Regions from separate parts of the Homo sapiens genome. Here region 2 is linked to region 1. The links are contacts of gene promoters, found by promoter capture Hi-C in human tissues and cell types (Jung and others, 2019). All regions are on one chromosome and are shown on one strand. The core of a region is centred on a gene start or on the middle of the fragment in contact, and the rest is flanking DNA. Distances in the headings are between cores, read along the strand shown. Region 1 holds the start of KCNH2 (potassium voltage-gated channel subfamily H member 2). Region 2 overlaps GBX1 (gastrulation brain homeobox 1).

What was found. Contacts are between HindIII fragments. The study calls those that stand out against the background at their distance.
Region 2: a fragment that was not itself captured here is called in contact with the fragment with the promoter of KCNH2 in region 1 in 2 of the 25 tissues and cell types used here (H1 embryonic stem cells and spleen).

The regions. Positions count from the first base shown.
Region 1 is chr7:150,977,046-150,983,504 of GRCh38, reverse strand. KCNH2 (potassium voltage-gated channel subfamily H member 2) reads left to right here and starts at 5,184. Exons shown (of 15, transcript NM_000238.4): 1 at 5,184-5,667. The coding sequence starts at 5,592. LOC124901776 (a long non-coding RNA gene) reads right to left here. Exons shown (of 3, transcript XR_007060592.1): 3 at 6,150-6,459. RefSeq lists a silencer at 4,167-4,516. The HindIII fragment of the contact is 28,056 bases long and covers 1-6,459 here.
Region 2 is chr7:151,150,472-151,156,792 of GRCh38, reverse strand. The region is part of intron 1 of GBX1 (gastrulation brain homeobox 1); the gene reads left to right. Among named protein-coding and RNA genes, the nearest start is that of GBX1, 14 kb to the left of the region's middle. The HindIII fragment of the contact is 8,938 bases long and covers 537-6,321 here.

The DNA of each region.
Region 1 (6,459 bases), core at 3,935-6,434:
TGAAGATGTTCACCACCTTCCTTTGTACCTGAGAAAGCCCTTACCATGCAGAAGGACCAAAATCGCCCAGGAAATTTTCCGAGCTGACCCAGCCCACTCAGAGCCCTCCTTCTTCTGAACACCCCTCCACGTATCCTCAACATCACCAGATTGTTCTTCTGACATTTCATATCCAAGTTTTTTCATGCCTATTGGTTCTTTTCCCGGTTAGATAATGAATTCCCTGTGTTTGTGGTTTCCAGTTAGATGCTACTGTGATGCAAACACAGCAGATAAAATGGGAGATTGATCAGTCTTGGGGGCTTCTATCTTGTCCTAAGGGGTCTCCTGCACCACTTATTTTTAGTCTGACATAAATATGCAGGATGGATCATGGTGCTATTTGTGGAGTAACCATTGGCTCCAAGTGCACCCAGGATGAGAGAGCAGAGGCAAGAGGTGGAGGTGAAGATGGCTATTGAGGAGAAACAGAGGAACCACTCATGGGTGGGTGTGTTGCTGTGTGGAATTAAGGAATCACTCACTGCTAGAGCTGGACGGGATCTCAGAGATCAGCTTGTTTGGTCTCCTCATTTTACAGGTAAGGAAAGTGAGATTTAGTGGTACTCCTAAAGTTACACAACAAATGGGCCCTTTTCCATCACCTCTGACCTGGTTCAAGTGTTGGGCATCTCTCCCTTGGACTATTGTATTGCTCTATGTGGCAGATGATATTTTCCCAAGGTGGTCGTGCCAATACATATGCTTTTCTTCCAGTGTGACAGCAACACCCCTCCACTGAGAGGTGGGGGTCTGTGTTTGTTCTCCTTGCATCTGATGGGTCACGATTACAGCAGAAGTTGTTTTATGTGATTTTTTAAGGCTAAGTTATTCAAGGAGATACAGCTGCTGACTGGTCTTCTCTTGGGACACTGGCCCTTGGAACACAGCCACCATGCTGTGAGGGAGCCAAGTGGCCACACAGAAGGGCGTTGTGTAGCTGTCTGGCCCCAGTCCTAGCTGAGGTCCCAGCCAACAGCCAGCACCAACCACCAAACGTAAGTAGATGAACCTTCCAGTCTCTAGTTTGGAGTAAAGCAGAGAAAAGTGGTCCTGGTGGAAACTACCCCAGTTGCAAATCCATGAGCAAAATATATCCAACTAAACCACTGGATCTTGGGATGGCTGTTATGCAGCAATAGGTAATGGAAAAACCTCATATCCACCTCATTTTCTCCAAACTATTATACACGTTTCATTCAATCAACAAACCTTTCTTGGATACCTACTCTTTGCCAGGGTCTGTACAAAGACAGAATATTTACATTCATGGATTCTGCATTCAGCTGCCACTACTGTTTCCTTACTGTTTCCTGCCACTACTGTGTCCCCCTTGCAGAGATAATAAAATTCATAGTCCTCATCCCTCTGCAAATGGTGCCAGCCTGCTGCTCCACTGCCACCACATCAAATTATTTTGTCCTCAGACCCAATCTCCATTCTCCTTTCTTTATATATCCTTATGTTGTCTCTTCTATCTGCAATGCTTCTGCCCTGCCCCACCTCCAACGTTCAAGGACCTGCACTGAAATCTCCTTCCCTGGCAAGGCCCTCCAAGACTCCTCCGGTTGAAATTAACCAACACCTCCTCGTAATCCCACAGCACTGACTGCAGACTGCAGTTTCTGTCTGCCCACCGTCTCCCTCAAAACTCACTAGACTGTGAATCCCTGGAGGAGGGATCCTGGCTTATCCCTCTTGTCCCCCAGCAGTGTCTGGCACAGGGCCCAGTACTTAGAAAGCCCCCAGTAAACACTTGTCGATGCAACTAGTAGCAGAACCAGAATTAGAAGTCAGATCTCCCGAATCCTAGTCTCCAGGGCCTTACTTGCTTCTTTTGACACCACAAAGGCAGGGAAAATGTCCCACCAAAGGTGGGGATCAGGTTGTCCAGAGAAGACCTTGGAATGGACCAGGGGTTGGCAGGATTGCTACATGTGGAGCTGCAGAGGGCGATGAGTGAAGAGTGTCCTGGCTCTTGGCTAGGGGTTTCAGGCGGGTTCCTTCCATCCTTTCTTCCTTCTTTCTTTCCTTCCTACTTCCCTTCTTTCTATCAATAAGCCCTGATCATCCACTTCTGGAGGGGAAACATGCTGTTTCTTTGATTCTTTTCTTCTCCAACTCCAGTTCACATCTGAAAAAAATCTCTATTCTGGGGACCCAGTTGCACAGAAAAACAAAAAAAACCCACCGTGTTCAAGCATCAAGGGACCTGCTCACTCTGTTCTTCCTTCCCCAGGGTTTCCCAGGAACCATTGCTCTGTAACCTGTCTCTCCTGTGCCCAGCCGACTGGAACTGCTTCCCAATCCCCTGTGGGTAACCCCAGGCTCTCCTGGGCCTGACTTTGGTGGTGTCTTGCCTGGCCCGCTCCTTGGGGGACCTCTGGCAGAGTGGGCTTCCATTTCTCTTTCTCCTTCCAGGATGTCCTGGCTCCATGCCTTCGGACTGAGCAGGAGCAGAGAGCAGGGTGGGTAGGATGCTTTCTGCAGACTTTTCTCCCTAAATTGTTTCTTTTTGGGAGCTGGGAGGAGCCTGGATATCTCACTGTAGCCTCTCTGTTCCCTCAGTCACAGGCAGGGTGCGGGAGAGCTCTTCCCAGGAATGGTCTCTGAAATGGCTCTTGGAGCTGAGATGGGGGTGGGGCAGATTCTAGAGGCTTAACAGCCCAGCTCTTGGTATTAGGGTTGGGCACTTTTCTCTTTGTCCCAGATCTGGGGGTAGCAGAGGTGGGAAGTTGAAGGCAGTGGGGGCTTCTCCATCAGCTCATCTGAGGCCCAGAAATGTTGCTTTGGGGAGAGCTTGCCCCCTCTCACCGTTTCTCTTCCTCAGCTCAATTCTTGAGTGTGGGGGCGGCTAAGTGGGTCTGCCTTCAGGCTCTACCCTGAGCCTCCAAGGAAGTCAGAAATCTACATTCAGCTTTGACTTCTGAGTATGTGGAGTGGGCTGGGGGGAGAGAGGGAGAGATCTGTCTCTCCTCAGCTTGAGGGAACAGCTCTCTTCTTGCCTCTGTGCACAGAAGGAGGGCTACCCCGTGCCTGGGCTCCTCTCTGTTTGGGAGGATGAAGGGCTCCTCTGACTCCTGTCTTCCCTTTGGGATAAGAGCAGAGGCCTGTCCCAGCAACACGGGTACAGGAGTGGAGGACAGCTGGCCAGCTCAGATGAGTGGCTCCTTCCCTTCAGGGCCTGGCTCTCCCTCTCCCTTGGTCTGGAGAGAGGGGGAGGCTACAGATGTCCCTTTCCCTTCTTGCCCTCCCATGCCCATTCTCAGCTGCTGGCCTTTGCTCACTTTCTCTCCATCCCCTGGCCTGGACAGGAGGACACTTCACTCACACATGAATCATCCTGGATTCATGGTAGGCAACCCAGCAGCCAGGGGTGGCCTTGGGGCGTGGCGGGGGCTGGGCCAGTCGTGGACTAGGTTCTACCCGGAACCCAGATGTGTTGATGCACCTGATGCCAAATGCTACACCAAGGAGGAGCTTGTGCTGTGGAAGGCCCTGGGCCCCCGGGGGGGTGAGTGAGGAAACTGCTGGCAGTGGAGAGGGCCTGAGGAATAACTGCACAGGCAAGAGCCTCTGGACTTTTTTAGCATCAGCTGTGGAGCCACCTCCTTCTCTCCCACTGGCTGCCTCCCTGAGTCACTGCCCACCCACCAGCAAATAAAAAAGAGTGTCATCTGCTGGCCAGTGGCCCCATTTGGCCCCAGTGTTTGCATCTTTGTGCTCCTGGGTGGAAGGTGAGAGTCCGGGTAGGGTGGTCTCACGACGACAGTTTTCTGCGCCTTCCTCCTTCGGGACTCCGATTCCTTCCCTGCCCTTTGTTCTTCCCCTCCCCCCATGATGGTTCTCGCTGGTGACAAGACCCAGCCCCTGCTCCAAGGACAGAGGCAGCTGCAAGCCCTCAGGAGCCCCCACATGGCCCCATCCATCTAGACAGGTCTCTGATCCGGCTGCAGGGAGGGGACCCTCGGCTGTTCAGCTGCGACTCCTCCCTCCCCGCCCGCCCACTCAGCTGTCAACACTCGCCTCCCCGCCCTGGCCTTCCCGGGGCCCTGCCTGACTGCTAAGTCCGAGGACACCGCGCCCGGAGACCCTCACTCAGACGCAAGCAGGCGATGAGCAGGCGGCGGGGCAGACACCCCGCCTGCCCTTGAGCATCCCTAGGCCTCCTTGCCTAAATAAGGGAGCCGCAGCTGGAGCGAGCCAGCTGGCCGGGGGGAGGGGCCTGCGGCTAGGCCAGGGCTTTCCGAGGGGCTGGGCCGTGGCCGCCGCCGCAGGGCCCCGAGCCCGCCGATTGGGCGTGCAAGGCTGGCCCCGGGCTGCCGGGGGAGGGCGGGCCGCTCGCACCCGGGGATCCCCTGGTTGGAACCTCGCGCTCAGGGACCTCTCTTTGATCCTGCAGCTAGGAGGCCGCAACTGCTGTCAGAATGTCCCTCTCTGTGCAGCTCCTATGCAGAGCCCCACAGAGGGCTCTCTCTCTCTCCGTGTGTGTGTGTGTATGTGTGTGTGTGTGTGTGTGTGTGTGTGTGTGTGTATGTGTGTGTGTGTGTGTGTGTGTGTGTGTGTGTGTGTGTTGGGGCAGGGGGCGTGCCCCTTCTAAGTTTAACCCTCCCTTATTTCAGAGCTCTGCTGCTCTGGGGCCTTCAGATTGTCTTGCTTTTCCTATTTCCAGGGTCTCCCTTGACTCCGGGCTCGTCTTCGAGGGTCCAGGCGTTGCCCCGGTCACCCACAGTAGGCACTGAGCGCGTGCTGTGTATACCAAGCCAGTGCTCGGCGTGGTGGGGAACCAGGGCATAAGGACCCGCCGTTTCCCTTCAAATCAGGTTTCTTAGTCGCTAATCTGGGGTGGGGGTGGAATCCCTTCCCCCATCCCGGCCGCCTACAAGCCGGCCATGGCACCTGTCCTCACGGTTTCCCCTGCCTAAGGGTCCCTTCCCCCTCTTCTGGGCGCGCGAGTCCCAGGGGCTCCTTGGCAGAGCGAGGGGCTGGCGTTGGGGGAGCACTCGGCGCGGCTCAGCCAATGGGAAGGTCGGGCGCGCGCGGTGGGGCGGGATGGGGGGGGGAGAGGGCGGTGCTGCGGGCGCGCGGCAGGCGGGAGGGGGCCGGGAGGCGGGGGCCGGAGCCGGAGGGGCGCGCGCCGCATTAACCCTTCCGCGGCCGGGCCGAGCCGCAGGCGCTGCCCGAGCCGCGGGCGCTGGAGCGGCTGTCGGCGCGGTGGCAGGCGGGAGCCAGGAGTCCGGGGCTCGGGCGGGCGGAGCGCAGCGCGGGGACGCGGCGGAGCGGGCCCCGCGGCTCGGCGGGGGCCGGCAGACAGGTGTGCCGGCGGCGGGCGGCTCGCGCTCAGGCGGCTCCAGGCCGGGCCCGGGGTCCGGAGCGGGGAGCCGGGAGCCGAGCGAGGACCCGGCGCCCGCAGTCCAGTCTTGGCCGCGCCCGTGCTCGGCTTGGCCGCGGGGTGCGGGGACCACGGCCCGGCCGGGCCACCCGAAGCCTAGTGCTGGGCCGGGCCGGGCCGGGGTGGGTGGGGGCCCGCCCGGCCCGCCCATGGGCTCAGGATGCCGGTGCGGAGGGGCCACGTCGCGCCGCAGAACACCTTCCTGGACACCATCATCCGCAAGTTTGAGGGCCAGAGTGAGTGGGGGAGGGGGCTGAGCGGGGAGGGGGCTCTGGGGGCGGGCCGAGCTCTTCCGAGTGTGGATGGGGGGGCGTGCCCGGGCCGTGTGCGTCGGCAAGTGCGAGTCAATGGGGCCTGGTGGGCCCCAGGCTTTGGCGAGGGGACGGCGGGGGCAAGGCTTGGTGCACCGGGGCCGTGGGCACCGGGCCAAAGGGTTTGGGGTTGGGGCTTGGGGCGGGAAACTCAGCTCAGGCTTTTGGGATCGGAGTGTGTGTGACACGCTGAGTGTGCAGGGAAGGGATGTGGGATGGAGTGTGCAGGTGTCCCCAACTCTGGGTGCGTGGACGTGGATGGGGCTGTGTGCAAGGGCATAAGAGTGTGTACGACCCAAACCCTGGGATCCCGAGAGTCCAGCGCGCACACTGGTCTTGCCAGATCTTGACTGTGTTGTGCCGGAGGGACTGAAAAGCCGTGGATGCAGGGTCAGCTCATAATCTCTTCTTGTGTGTGCCGTGTGTATATAACCCTGAGCCCATGTGTCACCCGTGAGTTAGACCCTGTATGGGCGGTGGGGAGGTGTCTTTGACAAGGCTGCGAGCTTGTGGGCTCTGTGGAGACAGGGTGTCCTGGGGCTAGAGCTGGGCTTTGAGGGTAAGCAGCTCCCTGTGGTACCCCCAAGTTGTGGGTTTTCTTGCCCTGGAGACTGTCACCTAATTCCCTTATGGGGACCGGGAGTACAGCACCCCTAATGCCTGCCTGGTAGGGAGGCTTCTAGAAGGGTCCCAGATTAGGCAAATGTCCTGGGGGTG
Region 2 (6,321 bases), core at 3,756-6,255, 170 kb before region 1:
GGCTGGTCTCGAACTCCTGACCTCAAGTGATCCGCCTGCCTCAGCCTCCCAAAGTGCTAGGATTACAGGCATGAGCCACCGTGCCCAGCCAAAAATGCATTTTTAAATAAAAGAAGCACTGACTGGTAAGATTACATCATACAAACCAATAAGGACAAAAGAACGGGAGAAAGATTTGGTGGGAATTTTGTCTCAGGAATGACAGGAAAAGTAGCTTGTTAAAGGACAGGTGAAGTTTGGTGAGTGAAACGTCTCTGATGACAATTTTAAGAATCTTCTCTGAGAATGTTAAGGGAAGATATTAATGATTAGGCTAGGACTCTGTGGTAGTAAGTGAAAGGGATGAGATCTTTTTCTTTCTCTCTCTTTTTTTTCGTTTTTTTTTTTTTTTTTTTTTTTTTTTTTTTGAGACAGGGTCTCACTCTGTCGCCCAAACTGGAGTGCAGTGGTGTGACCTCAGCTTACTGCAACCTCCGCTCTCAAGTTCAAGTGACTCTCCCACCTCAGCCTCCCGAGTAGTTGGGATTACAGGTGTAAGCCAATGTGCCCAGCTAATTTTTTTTGTATTTTTAGTAGAGACAGGGTTTCATCATGTTGGCCAGGCTGGTCTCCAACTCCTGGCCTCAAGTGATCTGCCCGCCTTGGCTTCCCAAAGTGCTAGGATTACAGGTGTGAGCCACTGAGTCTGACTAAAAGGGGTGAGATCTAAACTTGGATTTGATAAGAAGGTTATTTATCTAATGAGACATCTGGGGAGAGGGCTTTTACAAGTGGGAGAGGAGGAGAAAATAGTTTACTGGAAAGAATGAAAACAGCGTTAACTGCAGCTTTAGGAGACTTGACATCCTGTCCCTCTCTGATGCTAGACCTGACACTCTGTCCCTCTCTGCGTGACTTAGGAAATCATTTAATCTGTCTGAAACTCCATTTTTTCACCAGAAAATAAGGTTACTACCTCTCCTATTACTACTAATAATAGATCTGCTCTACGTCAGTCAACTGCTTGAAGATAAGATAGTAAATGTGGAAAATGTTTTGAAAAGTTAAAGATCATACAAGAGTGCTCTTGGAAATGGCAATGTTAGTATGCCCTGAAAGGAGGTCTGAGCTTAAAATGGTGGGAAATTGCCCTGAACTTGTCATGAAGCTGGGAGGGGTTCTGGATGACAGTGATGTAAAGAAAATTTTTTTGACTTGGAGTAAAGAATGCTAAAGAGTCATAGGAAGAGTGCAGAGAGAGAGAGAGAGAAAATGAAAATGAATGTTTCCAATTATACCTAAAATTATAGGCAGGAGTAGGAGCATAATGGAAGCATGAAATTCATGAGAATGAGTGAAAAATAAACTGAGAGTGAACTGGCTGTTTTAAACAATCGGAGAAAGTACTGTTTTTGAAAAGAACAGAGAAATAATTCTGTATTGGGCATGATGAAATGAGGATTTAGAAGTGGGAGTGATGGCAAATATGTCTCTTTTTTGAGGAATGACCTGTGTTTCTTCCCACCTTTTGACCCCACCCAAACTGGAACTGGATTCAGGGAGATGAGTAGTTGGCCTGTGAAAATCAGGAAGAGATTCATTGTCCTAAGATGGGCGGACCAGGAGAGAACCTAACCTTTCCTAAGAGTGGTTGGGGCAAGTGTTAGGATAGTTGTTTTTGAAGTAGAGAGAAGATAAGTCAGAACTGAGGGGCTTCTCTTCTATGAATACTCAAGATAATTGATTTCCTACGGTGATAACAGCAGGAGCTGCAGTAATGGGGTGAATGAGGGACAGCACAGGGGCTAGATGAATTCCTGTAGTTGGGAGCATAAAGTTGTCCTCCACTCCCTCTGGCTTTTCCTCCTCCTCCTCGGTGCCTCTAGCGCAGGCCTCCCTGCCTAGATGGAGTGAGTCTAGGGCATTGTGTTCTTTCTGCTGGAGAACACCTACTATGGATTCTTTGGCCCTTGATTTCTTCCCTAGCCCGAACTGACCCATTACCGAGATGGCCTTCTTTCTGACTCTGGAGCTGCTCCCCTTCCTCTTAGAAGGAAGGCCCCATGCAAGCACGTCTCCTGGAGCATGAGTGCTGTTCTCTGGAATGAGATTAATGCCCTTGACGTGAACTCTACAAGTAATCAAGGTTCAAACCTTGTGATTTCTAGTTTTTAGGATAATAGCATCCACCAGGAGAATTCACATGAACTCTGTTTCCTAATGACCAGTCTGTCCTACCATCACTTCCCCTGACCAGAGGCCAAACTGTTTTTCACAGATTAGACTCAACCATAGGGAACAAGCTGGAAACTCAATATAGTCTTCTTATTACCAATAATATCATCCTCATCATAAAGGACAGAACCTTTCTGTCTGTTTGGCCTACTTACCTAGCACAACAAAATAGTTTAGATTTTTAAAATTTTCATTTTGCTGAAGTATTCTCATCAGAATCATTATTTCATTATTTTCCATAGGAAATTTTTTTCATGCAAACCAACAACTTGCAATTTTCCATGTAACATTTTTAATTCTTATTTATTTATCGTTTTTTGTTCATACCAACCAATTATACTGTCTGCAATTGGAAATTTACTTTTTTTTTTCGAGACAGAGACTCTGTCGCCCAGGCTGGAGTGCAGTGGCGCGCTCTCTGCTCACTGCAATCCTGCCTCAGCCTCAAAAGTAGCTGGAATCACAGGCGCACGCCAACACCCCTGGCTAATTTTTGTATTTTTAGTAGAGACAGGGTTTCACCATGTTGGCCAGGCTGGTGGTGAACTCCTGACCTCAGGTGATCCACCCACCTCAGTCTCCCAAAGTGCTGGGATTACAGGCATGAACCACCATGCCCAGCCAGAAATTTACTTTTATGAACATTGTATCTACCAAGTCCAGTTATTCTAAATCAAATTTTGCAAATAGAAATTTTATCAACAAGATTTGCTTCTTGCCAGCCATGGTGGCTCACACCTGTAATCCCAGCACTTTGGGAAGCCGAGGTGGGAGGTTTGCTTGAGTCCAGAAGTTTGAGACCAGCCTGGGCAACATAGTAGGACCCCAACACTGCAAAAAAGTAAAAAAAATAAAAATAAAAAAGTTAGCCAGCCATGGTGGTGTGCGCCTATGGCCCAGCTACTTGGGAGGCTGAGGCAGGAGGATCACTTGAGACCAGGAGTTCAAGGCTGCGGTGAGCTATGATTACTCTACTGCATTCCAGTCTGGGTGACAGAGCGAGCGCCTGTCTCAGGAAAAAAAAAAAAAGATTTGCTTCTTTCAATTTTTAGTCAATAGCAAATTTTTATGTGCAATTTTTATTTTTTACTATTAATATTCATTATAAATTGGATAAAAGGAAATATTTTTATTTCTTAGCTAATTCCAGAGAAAATAGTTAGCTGTTTTGAAATTTCCACATTGTAAAGGATTGCACTACTGTTTTGCTCATTCTCTTTCTCTGCCTGTGTCTTTGGCTACTGCAGTCTACAGTGCTCCTTCTCTTGGGGCAGCAGAGAGCAAATGGCAGGGCCAAAATGTTTTGCTTTGCTTCAAATGTATCAGTATTCTGGGGGGAAAGGTAGATGAGGCATTTCTTAAAAAGTACCTTTTGCTTTCTTTCCCCTGATTTTTCCCATATTTTCTCTCTCCCTTCTCTAGACTTTTCAGCCCTTTTATTTTATCTGACTCATCATTTAATTTTTCTGCTATTTCTCTACCCCACTTCTTTCCTTCCCCAGTCTTCTTTCCACCTGCCTTGGCCTTTCCTTCTCTCTCCCACTCCTTGTCGGTCTTCCTCATTGTCCCAGACTCTCCTCTGAGGCATGTGGCTGTATTTTCTCCTCTCGTTGCTTTCTTCTATTGTCCCACCCCATTTCATTTCAAGAGTTGCTTATCAGAGTCTTCAATGTCATGATTATAAAGGCTCAGAGAGAAACTCTTGCCCCTGCCGCTCAGCATCCCACTGGGATCAAGTAACCAAGAGAGGTTGTGAACCTGTGCTCCTTGTATGGCTTTAAAAGCAGCACTGAGGGTGGCCGGCTCATGTGGGCTTCATTTTATGGATCTGTCTGAAGACAGAGGGATGGATGATACGATCTCAGGAGGGCCCTGCCAGATCGGGAACCTGGGAGCCTCATCTCAATCATCATCAATTTAGATTTATTGGACACCCCCTGGGTGCTTGGAGTTGTACTAACTGATTTTATCCTTCAAGCCTCGAAGTCTAGTTTCTGCCTTTTTAGCACTGTTTAACATATTGTAATATTGGGCTGAGTTTGTACAAGCCTTTGTTATTCTTTTTGTTATTATTTACTACAAACTATGTTTTAAAAAATTAAAATAGAGGATTTACTAATGGTATTAGGATTGTCCTTAATTTCTTTAAGCATCCTATAGATTTTTAAGATCCTATAGATTCCTACTGCATATGAATTCCTCTCCAGCTAATGTGAGATCTGAGGGCATTCTGAAAAGTGGGAAGGATAACATTCATAGGGAGATGTCTTATGCACTGGAGCTGGGCGGGGTGGGGTTGTGGGGAATATCGTCGGAGAGGCTTAGGAAAGGAAAGGACAGGGAGGGAAAGAAAGACGGGGAGCACATGCATGAGCATTTGGAAATCGTTTCTTTTATTTAGTCAACAGATGCTTATTGAGTGTCTACTCTGTATTGAGTGTCAGGTCATTTTCAAGACACTGAAGATATTGCAGTGAATGAGAAATATTCAGAATACCTACTTTCACGAAGCTATAGTCTATTAGGAAGAGACAGCCAGTAAAATAAATGAATAAAATTGGTAAAATGGACCAAAGTAACAAATAAATCGGAGAAAGGACATAGAGAGTATCAGAGGGTTTAAATTTTAAAAGGATGACCAGGGGAGGTGTCACTGATAAAGACCTGAAAGAGGTAGGGAATAAGCTAGTGCAAGATCTAGGTGAAGAGTAGTGTATTCCAGACAGAAAGAGGAATCATGGGCCAGGTGGAGTGTGGAGGACAGAAGCTGGGAAACCAGTTAGAAGATGACAGTGAACCAGGTCAGAGATAATTGTGATGTGGACTAGTTGGAAGCGGGAGATAGGGAGAAAGGATTGGGCTCTGGGGGTATTTTAAAGGCAGCAGCACTAGCAGGGCTTGTAGATGGACTGGATGTGGGTTGTGAGAGAGAGGAGTAAAAAGATGGCATCGAGGTTAGGTTTGAACACACAGAGGATGCAGTTGCCATTAACTGAGATGGGGATGATGTGGATAAAGATGAGAAAGAGCTGGTTTGGGGGAATGATCTGATTGGAGTTCAATTTGGGGCATGTTAAGTTTGAGTTCTGTGGAAGTGGAAAATAATGGGAGAAGAGACCTTAATGAAATGAAGGAGGAAACCAAGGATGTGAATCTTAGAGAAAACAACATAGATTTGGCTAGGGGTGAGATAGAGGGGAAAGAACAGGCTGATGGGAGACATTATGAGGGGCGAATTAGCTACAGACAGGATACAGTACTTACCCAGATGGGTCTTGATGCTGGGCGCCAGTGAAGCCTGAGCAAACTAGTAAAGAAGAACAAAAGCCATTGGCTGGTGAAAAGCAATGTACAGGAGTGGCATGGGAAGACTGGGGGAGCCCAAACTGGGGCATGCCGCATGGACTTTGAGAAGGTTAGAAGAAACAGGAAGCACTCCAGAAAGAAAAGGAGAGGGATGAAAACACCTTCGAGGTATGAAGTTGATTGGGATGTAGATGGGTGATGTGGAAAAAGGTTGAGAGTTCTGGCCACTAAGGAAAATGTCAGCTGGGCGCAGTGGCTCACACCTGTAATCCTGGCACTTTGGGAGGCCAGGGCTAGAGGATTGTATGAACCCAGAAGCTCAAGGCCAGCCTGGGCAACATAGTGAGATCCTGTCTCTACAAAAAAATAAACAGAATTAACCAGGCATGGTGTGTGCCTGTGGTCACAGCTACTTGGGAGGCTGAGGGTGGAGGATCCCTTGAGCCTGGAAGGTCAAGGCTGCAGTGGGCCAAGACTGTGCACTATACTCCAGCCTTGCTGACAGAGTGAGAGTCTCACTCTGTCTCAAAAGAAAGAAAGATAGGAAAGATAGGAAAAGAAAATGTCAATGTGGCTGTTGAGGAAAAAGACCAGGTGTAGACTGCACCTGTGAGGGGGAAGGGAACTTGGCAGGGGGTGGGGCGGGGTGTGCTGAAGGAGAACACCAGGAAGCTCTGACTGCCAGGAGATGTTCTATCTGTGAACACACACACCCTCTTTCTCTAATAAAGCCTTTCCCCGTGCCCTGAATTTAGTTTACTTGGAGTTGTATTCTCAACCTCTGAGTCTGCTTATCTCAGG